2 separate regions of the Homo sapiens genome follow, and region 1 is linked to region 2. The links are contacts of gene promoters, found by promoter capture Hi-C in blood cells and fetal thymus (Javierre and others, 2016). All regions are on one chromosome and are shown on one strand. Each heading gives the region's core, a stretch centred on a gene start or on the middle of the fragment in contact. The rest is flanking DNA. Distances are from core to core; before and after follow the strand shown.

Region 1 (4,505 bases), core at 1,517-4,016, 230 kb before region 2:
CAGCCTCCGGCCTCTGTCTGCGGGGGCGGGGCGGGGCCTAGGCCAGCTGGAGGCCGCCATGCACCGCGGGCCTGGGATCTGCGCCCAGGCCAGGCGGGCCCAGGGTTTTCCGCCTCCGACGTGTTTCCGGCCTTAAAGGCATTCCGCCCTTCCCTTTAAGACGCACCGCCCCCTCTCAGTCACTCCCAAGATGGCGGACCTACTGGGCTCCATCCTGAGCTCCATGGAGAAGCCACCCAGCCTCGGTGACCAGGAGACTCGGCGCAAGGCCCGAGGTGAGGATCCCAAATTCACAACCGCCTTCCTTCGCCCGGTTCTCGGGACCATACTTCTCCCTCTTTGGACGATGCCGCCTCCTCAACCTTGAAAGACCCCTCACAGGCCCCTTCCGAGACCCTCAGAGTCCCTAAAAGGGCTGCTGACACGCCCGCTGTTCTTAGCGGACAGTGATTGGCTACCTGAAAGATAGCGCCAGCCTCCTGCCTCTTCTCCCGACCCTGGCCTTCCGCAGTCCTTGTTTCCCATTAGCCGGCCGTCCCGCCTGTCCGCTGCTGACCTGGTCTGATTGGTAGGGTGCCTCCAACCTGCCGCATTCCTGCCCCGCTCACCTCTAGCTCTATTTCGATTGGATTTAGGACACGCCATCTACTGTGCCTTCATCTCTATTGGCTATCTCAACTTAAAGCTCTGCCTCCTCAGGCCTGTTCGACCTTCCTTCGAAACCACCCCAGCCTGCGAATTCCCATTGGTTGCAGGGTCCTCTGTGTGTTCTTGCCCCTCCTGCTTAATTTAACCCAGTCCCTTCTGCCTCCCTCCGACAACCTTTTTCCCATCCGTAGCCTTAAATTCCCGAGCTGCCCGGGCGGATCGTAGTGTTGATTGGAGGGATGAGAATACCCGCCGGGTCCGATTGGCCACTGTCTCCGCCTGCGTTCTCGGAGTAGCTTCCCTGCGGGTGGGCTGGAGTTCGGCGGCCGGCGTAGGGCGCGGCCCTGCAGGGCGGTGGGAGCCTCCCCGGGGCTGCTCGTGTTGCAGCTTGGGATGATACTGGCGGAACGCAGGACCCCAACTCCCAAACCTGCGGACCTTGACCACGGACGAGCCCTGTCCCAGCTCCCCACGTGCCCCAGGGGGACCAGAGCAGGCAGGACGCCTTCCAAGTATTCAAGGGCCGCTGGTTGCCTACGCTTCGTCCCCTTGTTTCTTGAACAACCGTTAGGGACCAGGGGTACCCCTCAGGGAGGCCACAGTCCGGGGCTGGGGCGCTCATTGATGCAGTGATCACACGTAAGTTTAATAACCAACTTGATAAGTGCTCTGAGAGAAAAATAACTGTGAGAGCGGCCACCTGAGGTTCTCCCCCAATCTGCAGTGAGCCGAGATCAGAACAGGTAATTCCGTAAATGAGAGAGAGAAGCAAAGCGTTACAGGCAGAAGAGTCTATTTGAAATCTCTGAGAAAGGAGGAAGCATGATGGGAATGGGGAACTGGAATTCTCTAATGCTCCGATGACTGTCTAAGTGGGGGATCACCCGGCATTGACAGACTGGGAAGCTTAAATGAGTCACTCGCCTGAGGTCACATGGTTAGTTTGGTAAGTGGCAGGGTTTCAAACCCAGGTATGACTGGGCTCGAAGCCTATGTTCTTGACCATAATCTTGTGCCACTTCTCTAGATGCAGAGAAGACTCGAAAACCAGTTAAAGAACAGTCAGTGGGGCCCGGCCTTGTAGCTCACACCTTTAATACCACCACTTTGGGAGGCCGCGGCGGACGGATCGCTTGAGCCCAGGAGTTCAAGACCAGTCTGGGCAACATGGAGAAACCCCATCTCTACAAAAAATACAAAAATTGGCCGGGCTCACGCCTGTAATCCCAAAACTTTGGGAGGCCAAGGCGGGCAGATCACGAGATCAAGAGATCGAGAGCATCCTGGCCAACATGGTGAAACCCCGTCTCTACTAAAAATACGAAAATTAGCTGGGCGTGGTGGCGCGTGCCTGTAGTCCCAGCTACTCAGGAGGCTGGGGCAGGAGAATCAGTTGAACCCAGGAGGAGGAGGTTGCAGTGAGCCGAGATTGCGCCACTGTACTCCAGCCTGGCGACAGAGCGAGACTCCGTCTCATAAATAAATAAATAAATAGATAAATAAATAAATAAATAAATAAACATTAGCTGGGCTTGGTGGCGCGCTCCTATGGTCCCAATTCTCGGGAGGCTGAGGTGGGAGAATCGCTTGAGTCTGGGAGGTTGAAGCTGCAGTGAGAGGTGATTGCGCCACTGCACTCCATTTTGGGCGATGAAGTTGAGACTGTTTCCAACAACAAAAGATGAAATGCGCTGATGGTCAGTGAGGACAGAGGGATGAGAGCTCATAAGCTGTCAGGCCCTGGGGCTCCAGAGGATAACTGAACAGTAGATCAACAGGGTCCCTGCCCTCCAGGAGCTCATACTATGCTGAAGGAGACAAAAAAAAAAGAAGTTATGATACGTTAGTTCTCTGTCTATGCTGCTGGGTGTCTCAGCCAAAGGAGCTTGGAGCCCAGGGGAAGAAGTAACTGACTCACGGTAGATCTCAATGTTTGCAAGAGGAGGAAAAGCATTCCAAGCAGAGGAACAACGTGTGCAAAGGCATGGAGTTATTTGAAAAATGGGGAGAGGGCTCATGCCTATAATCCCAGCACTTTGGGAGGCTGAGGCGGGCAGATCACTTGAGGTCAGGAGTTCAAAACCAGGCTGGCCAACATGGCGAAACATCGTCTCTACGAAAAATACAAAAAAATGGGCGGGCGTGGTGGCTCACGCCTGTAATCCCAACACTTTGGGAGGCTGAGGCGGGCGGATCACCTGACGTCGGGAGTTCGAGACCAGCCTGACCAACATGGAGAAGAAAGCCCATCTCTACTAAAAATGAAAAAATTAGCCAGGTGTAGTGGCACATGCCTGTGATCCCAGCTACTCGGGAGGCTGAGGCAGGAGAATCACTTGAACCCGGGAGGCAGAGGTTGCAGTGAGCCAAGATTGCACCATTGCACTCCAGCCTGGGCAAAGAGAGCGAAACTCCATCTCAAAAAAAGAAAAAGAAAAAAAAAATTAGCCGGGTGTGGTGGTTCACACCTGTAATCCCAGCTACTCGGGAGGCTGAGGCATGAGAATCACTGGAACCCGGGAGGCAGAGGTTGCAGTGAGCCGAGATCGCGCCACTGCACTCCAGCCTGGGCACACAGCGAGACTCTGTCTCGAAATAAATAAATAAATGATGGGGAGAGGTTCAGTGCAGCTGGAGAGGATTCAGATCCTGGGGAAGAAGGAGGCCTTAAAGATGTAAAGGATTTGGCCGGGTGCGGTGGCTCACGCCTATAATCCCAGCACTTTGGGAGGCCGAGGCGGGTGGATCATGAGGTCAGGAGATCAAGACCATCCTGGCTAAAACGGTGAAACCTTGTCTCCACTAAAAATACAAAAAATTCTCCAGGCGTGGTGGCGGGCGCCTGTAGTCCCAGCTACTTGGGAGGCTGAGGCAGGAGAATGGCGTGAACCCGGGAGGCGGAGCTTGCAGTGAGCGGAGATTGCGCCACTGCACTCCAGCCTGGGCGACAGAGCGAGACTCCGTCTCAAAAAAAAAAAAAAAAAAAAAAGATGTAAAGGATTTGAAATGGCAAAAGAGAAAAAAATTTCAGGCTGAGGAGCAGGAGTAGGAAGAAGCATGCACCCAAATCTCTAGAGGTAGTAAAATCACATCGTGGGGAAGACAGGCAAGCATGGAGGGCCCGGGTTAGAAATTCTTCCTCCTCCTCCAGAGGCAGAGGGGATCTGGCGCAGAGGCAGGATCTAAGGAAGAGGAAGAAAGTTAAATAAGACCCTTAGCCAGGCGAGGGGACTCACAGCTGAAATCCCAGCACTTTGGGAGGCTGGTCTTGAACTCCCAGCCTCAAGTGATCCTCCCACCTCGGCCTCTCAAATTGCTTGAGAAGCTTGAGTCTCTGCACCCAGACCTGGCTAATTTTTTTAAAAAAAGTTTTCTGTAAAGATGGGGTCTCGGGCATCTTCAGGCAAGAGGCAGGCAGATACCTTGAGCCCAAGAGTTCAGAAAAAGAAGACCCTTCACAGCTAACCTTGGACACCTACACTCCCAAAGGAGAAGGGTGTCAGATTATCTATTTCAGCTTCATCCTGTCTATAGAAGTGGGAAGTGGGGGATTTTACAAAATATAGAAAGTTAAATAATTTCCCCTTTCCAGCTGGGCACGGTGGCTCAAGCCTGTAATCCTGGCACTTTGGGAGGCCGAGGCAGGTGGATCACAAGGTCAGGAGTTCGAGACCAGCCTGGCCAATATGGTGAAACCCCATCTCTACTAAAAATACAAAAATTAGCTGGGCGTGGTGGCACATGCCTATAGTCCCAGCTACTCAGGAGGCTGAGGCAGAAGAATCGCTTGAACCCAGGAGGCGGAGGTTGCAGTGAGCCAAGATCGTGCCACTGCACTCCAGCCTGGGCGACAAAGC
Region 2 (5,138 bases), core at 968-3,467:
AAGCTGTGCCTGTGACACACATGGCAGGTTCGAGCACGAAGGGAAGCAAAGGTGAAGCCTGGCCGGGGACCCCATGTCCGCATTGGGGTTTTGGCTAACTTCACACCTAGCCTTGGGACCAAGCTCTCCAGCTCTCTAAATGCAGTTGGGGGGGAGATGGCATCAGGCTGGAGGAGGTGCTTGGGAATCCAGGGCCCGAGTCCTCCCCAGCCTCAGATACCAGATTTCTATACCGATGCAGCCGGGCATCTCCCACAGTAAGCTGTCGGGGCTTTCGGGGATCCCCAGAGCCCATGGGACAGGCCATGCTGTGACAGAGGAGAGCATAGGCCCAAGGAGCCAGGTCCTTGGTCCCTGAGCCCCAGCTTGCGGTTCCCTGGGCTCCATCCACTAGCAGATCAATGCCCAAGATGGTGCCATGCTCATCCGTCACAAGTAAGAGACAGGAAACGTGCAGGGGGGCAGCCTCTGGGGAAAGAGGGAAAAGTTGAGGTGGTAGGGGGCAGCGAGAGACAAATGTGGTCAGGGTCAGGAGTACCAAACTCAAATACCTACGGGGCTAGGCAAGTAACCTCACTGAGTAAAGGGCTCTGGGTAGAGAGGGCACGCTCCTTCTAAAGGGGACAGCTGCTACAGAGGACCAGAATGCGCTGCCATGCAGAAATGTAGGCCCACTGTCAGAGCTTGAGATTTTTCTTGGGAATGTGTAAATCCAGACTTCTGGATACTTTTTTTCTTGCAATGTTTAAACATTAAATTAAAAAAAAAAACCCCACTGTGGGTCAATAAAAACACCTTTTCAGGCCAGATTGGCCTGAAGGCCAGCACTCAGAACTAGTGGCAGGGGAGGGCTTCCGAAGGGAGGATGGCTGGGCAAGGGGTAGGGCAGGGCCAGCCCTGGGTTCTTACCACTCCTCTGTCCCTTCCTCTTCTGGGGTCTTGTTTCGTTCTCCACCCTGTCCTCTCGGCAGCCATCCTTGCCACCTCCTGCCTCCCGGGCAGCCTCCTCTGACTCTCCTGGAGGGTTTGTTTCCTGGGGGGACTCCCTGCTGGTAGGGGCTAGCTCCCGGTCCTCCTCTGGTTCCACCTTCTCTGTGCTGCCTGCACCCCCGTCCTCTCTCTTCTCTTCTTCTTCATCTTCCTCCTCTTCCTCCTCCCCTTCCTCCCCATCCTCTAGGCTGACAAAGCTGATGTAGGGGCTCAGGTCTCGCAGGTGGAGTGGAGGGTTGTCTCCCAGGAGCCAGGCAGTCCCCAGGCCTGGTCCAGGACCTGGTTCTGCCCCTTGCCCCAGGCTGATGCCCACACTATGGTTGGGCAGGACATGGAGCACCCAAAGGGCAGGGTCCTGGGGTAGCCTTCTGATCTGGGCCTCCAGCTGCCGGCAGCGGCCCTCAAGGCTAGTCCCTACAGCTCCACGCTCTGCCACAAACTTTCGGAACCAGCCGAAGAGAAGGGCAGTGAAATCAAGGAACTCATCCCGGTATCCAGACACAAACTCCATGTCTTCAGCGGCACAGGGCCCCGGCCCAGACTGAGCAAAAGAAGGGATATATGGTGAGGGACAGGAGAGCAATGATGGAGTTTGGGGCTGGGTCACAAATTGAGGGAGAGGGTAGGTTTGAGAGTCACTTAGGGTTGGATCCGTGGATATGCTAGGAGCGGAGAAGAGGATTTTTCAGGGCTGAGGATGGGAGTTTAGGGAGGAAAATGGGGGCTGGACTTGAAAGTGGGTGACCAGGGTTGGAGAAGACTACTCAGGGATGAGATGGTATTTGGGGCTTAAAATTGGAGAGTTCACACCCTCAAAAGCAGAGTTTAAATTAAGGCTAGAGAGGAGAGAGGGCTAATCCTATCGGGAACGGTTTGGTGGGGAGGGAAGCATTTTGGATGCGTCTGTGGGGTATGGGAGTGGGAGCGAGGGGGTTCCCTGGGCTCGGATCTGCGTGGCGGGCAGCCCCGGTAGACCTAGCCCCTCCCGGCCGCCCCACTCCTCCGGTACCTGCAGCCGCCACCACTTTTCGAAGGTAAATACCTCGCGGTGGAGGGTGCGCGGGTGCGGTTGTGACGTCAGGGCTGCCCGAGCCCTCGCCGGCTCAGCGGGCGGCCACGCCCCCCGGGCTCGGTGCGTCCGCGGGTGGCTGCCCCGCAGGTGCGCGCGGCCGGGGCTGGCGGCGACTCTCTCCACCGGGCCGCCCGGGAGGCTCATGCAGCGCGGCTGGGTCCCGCGGCGCCCGGATCGGGGAAGTGAAAGTGCCTCGGAGGAGGAGGGCCGGTCCGGCAGTGCAGCCGCCTCACAGGTCGGCGGACGGGCCAGGCGGGCGGCCTCCTGAACCGAACCGAATCGGCTCCTCGGGCCGTCGTCCTCCCGCCCCTCCTCGCCCGCCGCCGGAGTTTTCTTTCGGTTTCTTCCAAGATTCCTGGCCTTCCCTCGACGGAGCCGGGCCCAGTGCGGGGGCGCAGGGCGCGGGAGCTCCACCTCCTCGGCTTTCCCTGCGTCCAGAGGCTGGCATGGCGCGGGCCGAGTACTGAGCGCACGGTCGGGGCACAGCAGGGCCGGGGGGTGCAGCTGGCTCGCGCCTCCTCTCCGGCCGCCGTCTCCTCCGGTCCCCGGCGAAAGCCATTGAGACACCAGCTGGACGTCACGCGCCGGAGCATGTCTGGGAGTCAGAGCGAGGTGGCTCCATCCCCGCAGAGTCCGCGGAGCCCCGAGATGGGACGGGACTTGCGGCCCGGGTCCCGCGTGCTCCTGCTCCTGCTTCTGCTCCTGCTGGTGTACCTGACTCAGCCAGGTTAGCCGGGGGCGGGGCAGGGGACCCAGATTCCCCTGTCACGGGAAGGGGGTGAGTTGGGGAGGGGACACGAGGCCCACGGAGTTGAGTGGATGAAGGCAGCGGGGACAAGAGGAAAGCCAGCCAGCCGCCTGGGGTTGGGGACAGAGGCCCGGGGACGCCTGGCTCCGGGCGGGATTATGGATGTTGTCGGGGGCGTGATGATGTGTGGGTTGAGCCTGGCGCTCTGACCCTGGGTCCACCGAGAGGCTGTCATGGGGCTGTGGATTGGATGCCAGGGAACAGCGGAGTGGGGACCCTGGGCCTGGGAATGGGTGCCGACCACCTCCGTCCCGCGCAGGCAATGGCAACGAGGGCAGCGTCACTGGAAGTTGTTATTGTGGTAAAAGAATTTCTTCCGACTCCCCGCCATCGGTTCAGTTCATGAATCGTCTCCGGAAACACCTGAGAGCTTACCATCGGTGTCTATACTACACGAGGTAATTTTACCTGCCTCTGCGAGGGCAGCGCCTGGGCGGCCCCTCCTTGCAGGTGCCTCCAGGACCCTCTCTGGTCCAGCCTGAACTCCTTCCCGGCTCACCGAGCCCCATCTCCGGGTTCCGTTTGCTCTCATTCCCCGAAACTTCATGACTCCGTCTCACCTACTGGGGAGTTTCCCAGTCCCAGGAGAAAGGGCTCTTTCTTGGTGGCAACTTCACGCCTCTGGAATGAGGAAGGAGCCGGGGAAGGAAAGAAGGCGCCGCAGCTAAGCCCAGGTCTCTCCTCCGCAGGTTCCAGCTCCTTTCCTGGAGCGTGTGTGGGGGCAACAAGGACCCATGGGTTCAGGAATTGATGAGCTGTCTTGATCTCAAAGGTGAGACTTTTCCACTGCTCTTCAGGCTCTGCCTCCAGGGCTTAGCAGCTTCCACCTGACAGTTTTCTTTACCTGAGCCTTTTCCCCTGGGGCCGCACATTCCTAGAACCTTCTTCTGATCCTGTCCAAAGTACTTAGACTCGAGTCCCTGTTTGCCAAACGGGGTGATCATTCACCATCACCTTCATGAGTTTTGCCAATTCATTCTACCACGTGTGCTATTGTCTACTTATTAATATTTTTCTTGAAATCAAAGTACTATTTTATTTTATTTTTTTGAGATGGAGTCTCACTCTGTCACCCAGGCTGGAGTGCAGTGGCACGATCTTGGCTCACTGCAACCTCTGCCTCCCAGGTTCAAGAGATTCTCCTGCCTCAGCCTCCTGAGTAGCTGGGATTACAGGCGCGCACCACCAAGCCTGGCTAATTTTTGTATTTTTAGTAGAGACAGGGTTTCACCATGTTGGCCAGGCTGGTCTCGAACTCCTGGCCTTGTGATCCACCCGCCTCGGCCTCCAAAAGTGCTAGGATTACAGGCGTGAGCCACCACACCTGGCCTATTTTTCTTTTCCAATATTTTATTATGAAAATTTACACATATACAAAAGTTGAAAGAATGGCACACTGAATATCCAGTGCCTCCACCTAGATTCTACAATTTTATTTATATATGTATATTTTACATATTTACATAAACATATATTTTACACTATCAATTTTACAGCAATTACACGATATTTGCTTTATTAAGTATCCATCTATTCATTCTTCTATCCATCATCCATCACCTTATTTCTTGATGCATTTCTTTTTTTTTTTTTTTTTTTTTTTTAATGGAGTCTTGCTCTGTCGCCCAGGCTGGAGTGCAATGGTGCCCTCAGCTCACTGCAGCCTCCGCCTCCCAGGTTCAAGCAATTCTCCTGCCACAGCCTTCCGAGTAGCTGGGATTGCAGGTGCCCGCCACCATGCCCAGCTAATTTTTGTATTTTTTTAGTAGAGATGGGGTTTCACCGTGTTGGTCAGGCTGGTCTCAAACTCCTGACCTCAGGTGATCCACCTGCCTCAGCCTCCCAAAGTGCTGGGATTACAGGTGTGAACCGCAGTGCCCGGCCTCTTGATGCATTTCAAGGCAGATTGTGGACATCATTGCACTTCATCCCAAGACATTTCAGCATGTATATTAAGTAGAGTTCAATATTTTAATGCTTTTTTTTCTTTTGAGTTCAAATTTACATACAATGAAATGAATTACTTTTAAGTGTGCACAAACTAGTTTTGAAAACTTAAGTAGAGGCCAGGACGGTGGCTCACTCCTGTAATCCTAGCTCTTTGGGAGGTTGAGGCCGGTGGATCACCTGAGGTCAGGAGTTTGAGACCAGCCTGACCAACATGGTAAAACCCCATCTCTACTAAAAATACAAAATTAGCCAGGCATGGTGGCATGTGCCTGTAATTCCAGCTACTCAGGAGGTTGAGGCAGGAGAATCACTTGAACC

What was found. The method cuts DNA at HindIII sites, captures the fragments that hold promoters and counts their contacts. A CHiCAGO score of 5 or more calls a contact.
Region 1: a contact is called between a fragment that was not itself captured here and the fragment with the promoter of ZMYND15 in region 2, in 3 of 17 cell types (M0 macrophages, monocytes and M1 macrophages). The highest score is 9.8, in M0 macrophages.

Annotation. Positions count from the first base shown.
Region 1 is chr17:4,963,490-4,967,994 of GRCh38, reverse strand. It overlaps SPAG7 (sperm associated antigen 7), which reads left to right and starts at 178. Exons shown (of 7, transcript NM_004890.3): 1 at 178-275. The coding sequence starts at 191. It overlaps LOC124900387 (a long non-coding RNA gene), which reads left to right and starts at 282. Exons shown (of 2, transcript XR_007065587.1): 1 at 282-1,594; 2 at 1,676-2,173. RefSeq lists a silencer at 1-32 and enhancers at 1-455, 43-542, 456-1,133, 1,812-2,489. The HindIII fragment of the contact is 2,419 bases long and covers 1,557-3,975 here.
Region 2 is chr17:4,736,912-4,742,049 of GRCh38, reverse strand. It overlaps ZMYND15 (zinc finger MYND-type containing 15), which reads right to left and starts at 2,217. Exons shown (of 14, transcript NM_001136046.3): 1 at 2,000-2,217; 2 at 910-1,531; 3 at 234-468; 4 at 1-135. The coding sequence starts at 1,501. It overlaps CXCL16 (C-X-C motif chemokine ligand 16), which reads left to right and starts at 2,122. Exons shown (of 6, transcript NM_001386809.1): 1 at 2,122-2,789; 2 at 3,130-3,268; 3 at 3,560-3,642. The coding sequence starts at 2,711. RefSeq lists a silencer at 2,031-2,250 and enhancers at 1,799-2,703, 2,704-3,609. The HindIII fragment of the contact is 8,207 bases long and covers 1-5,138 here.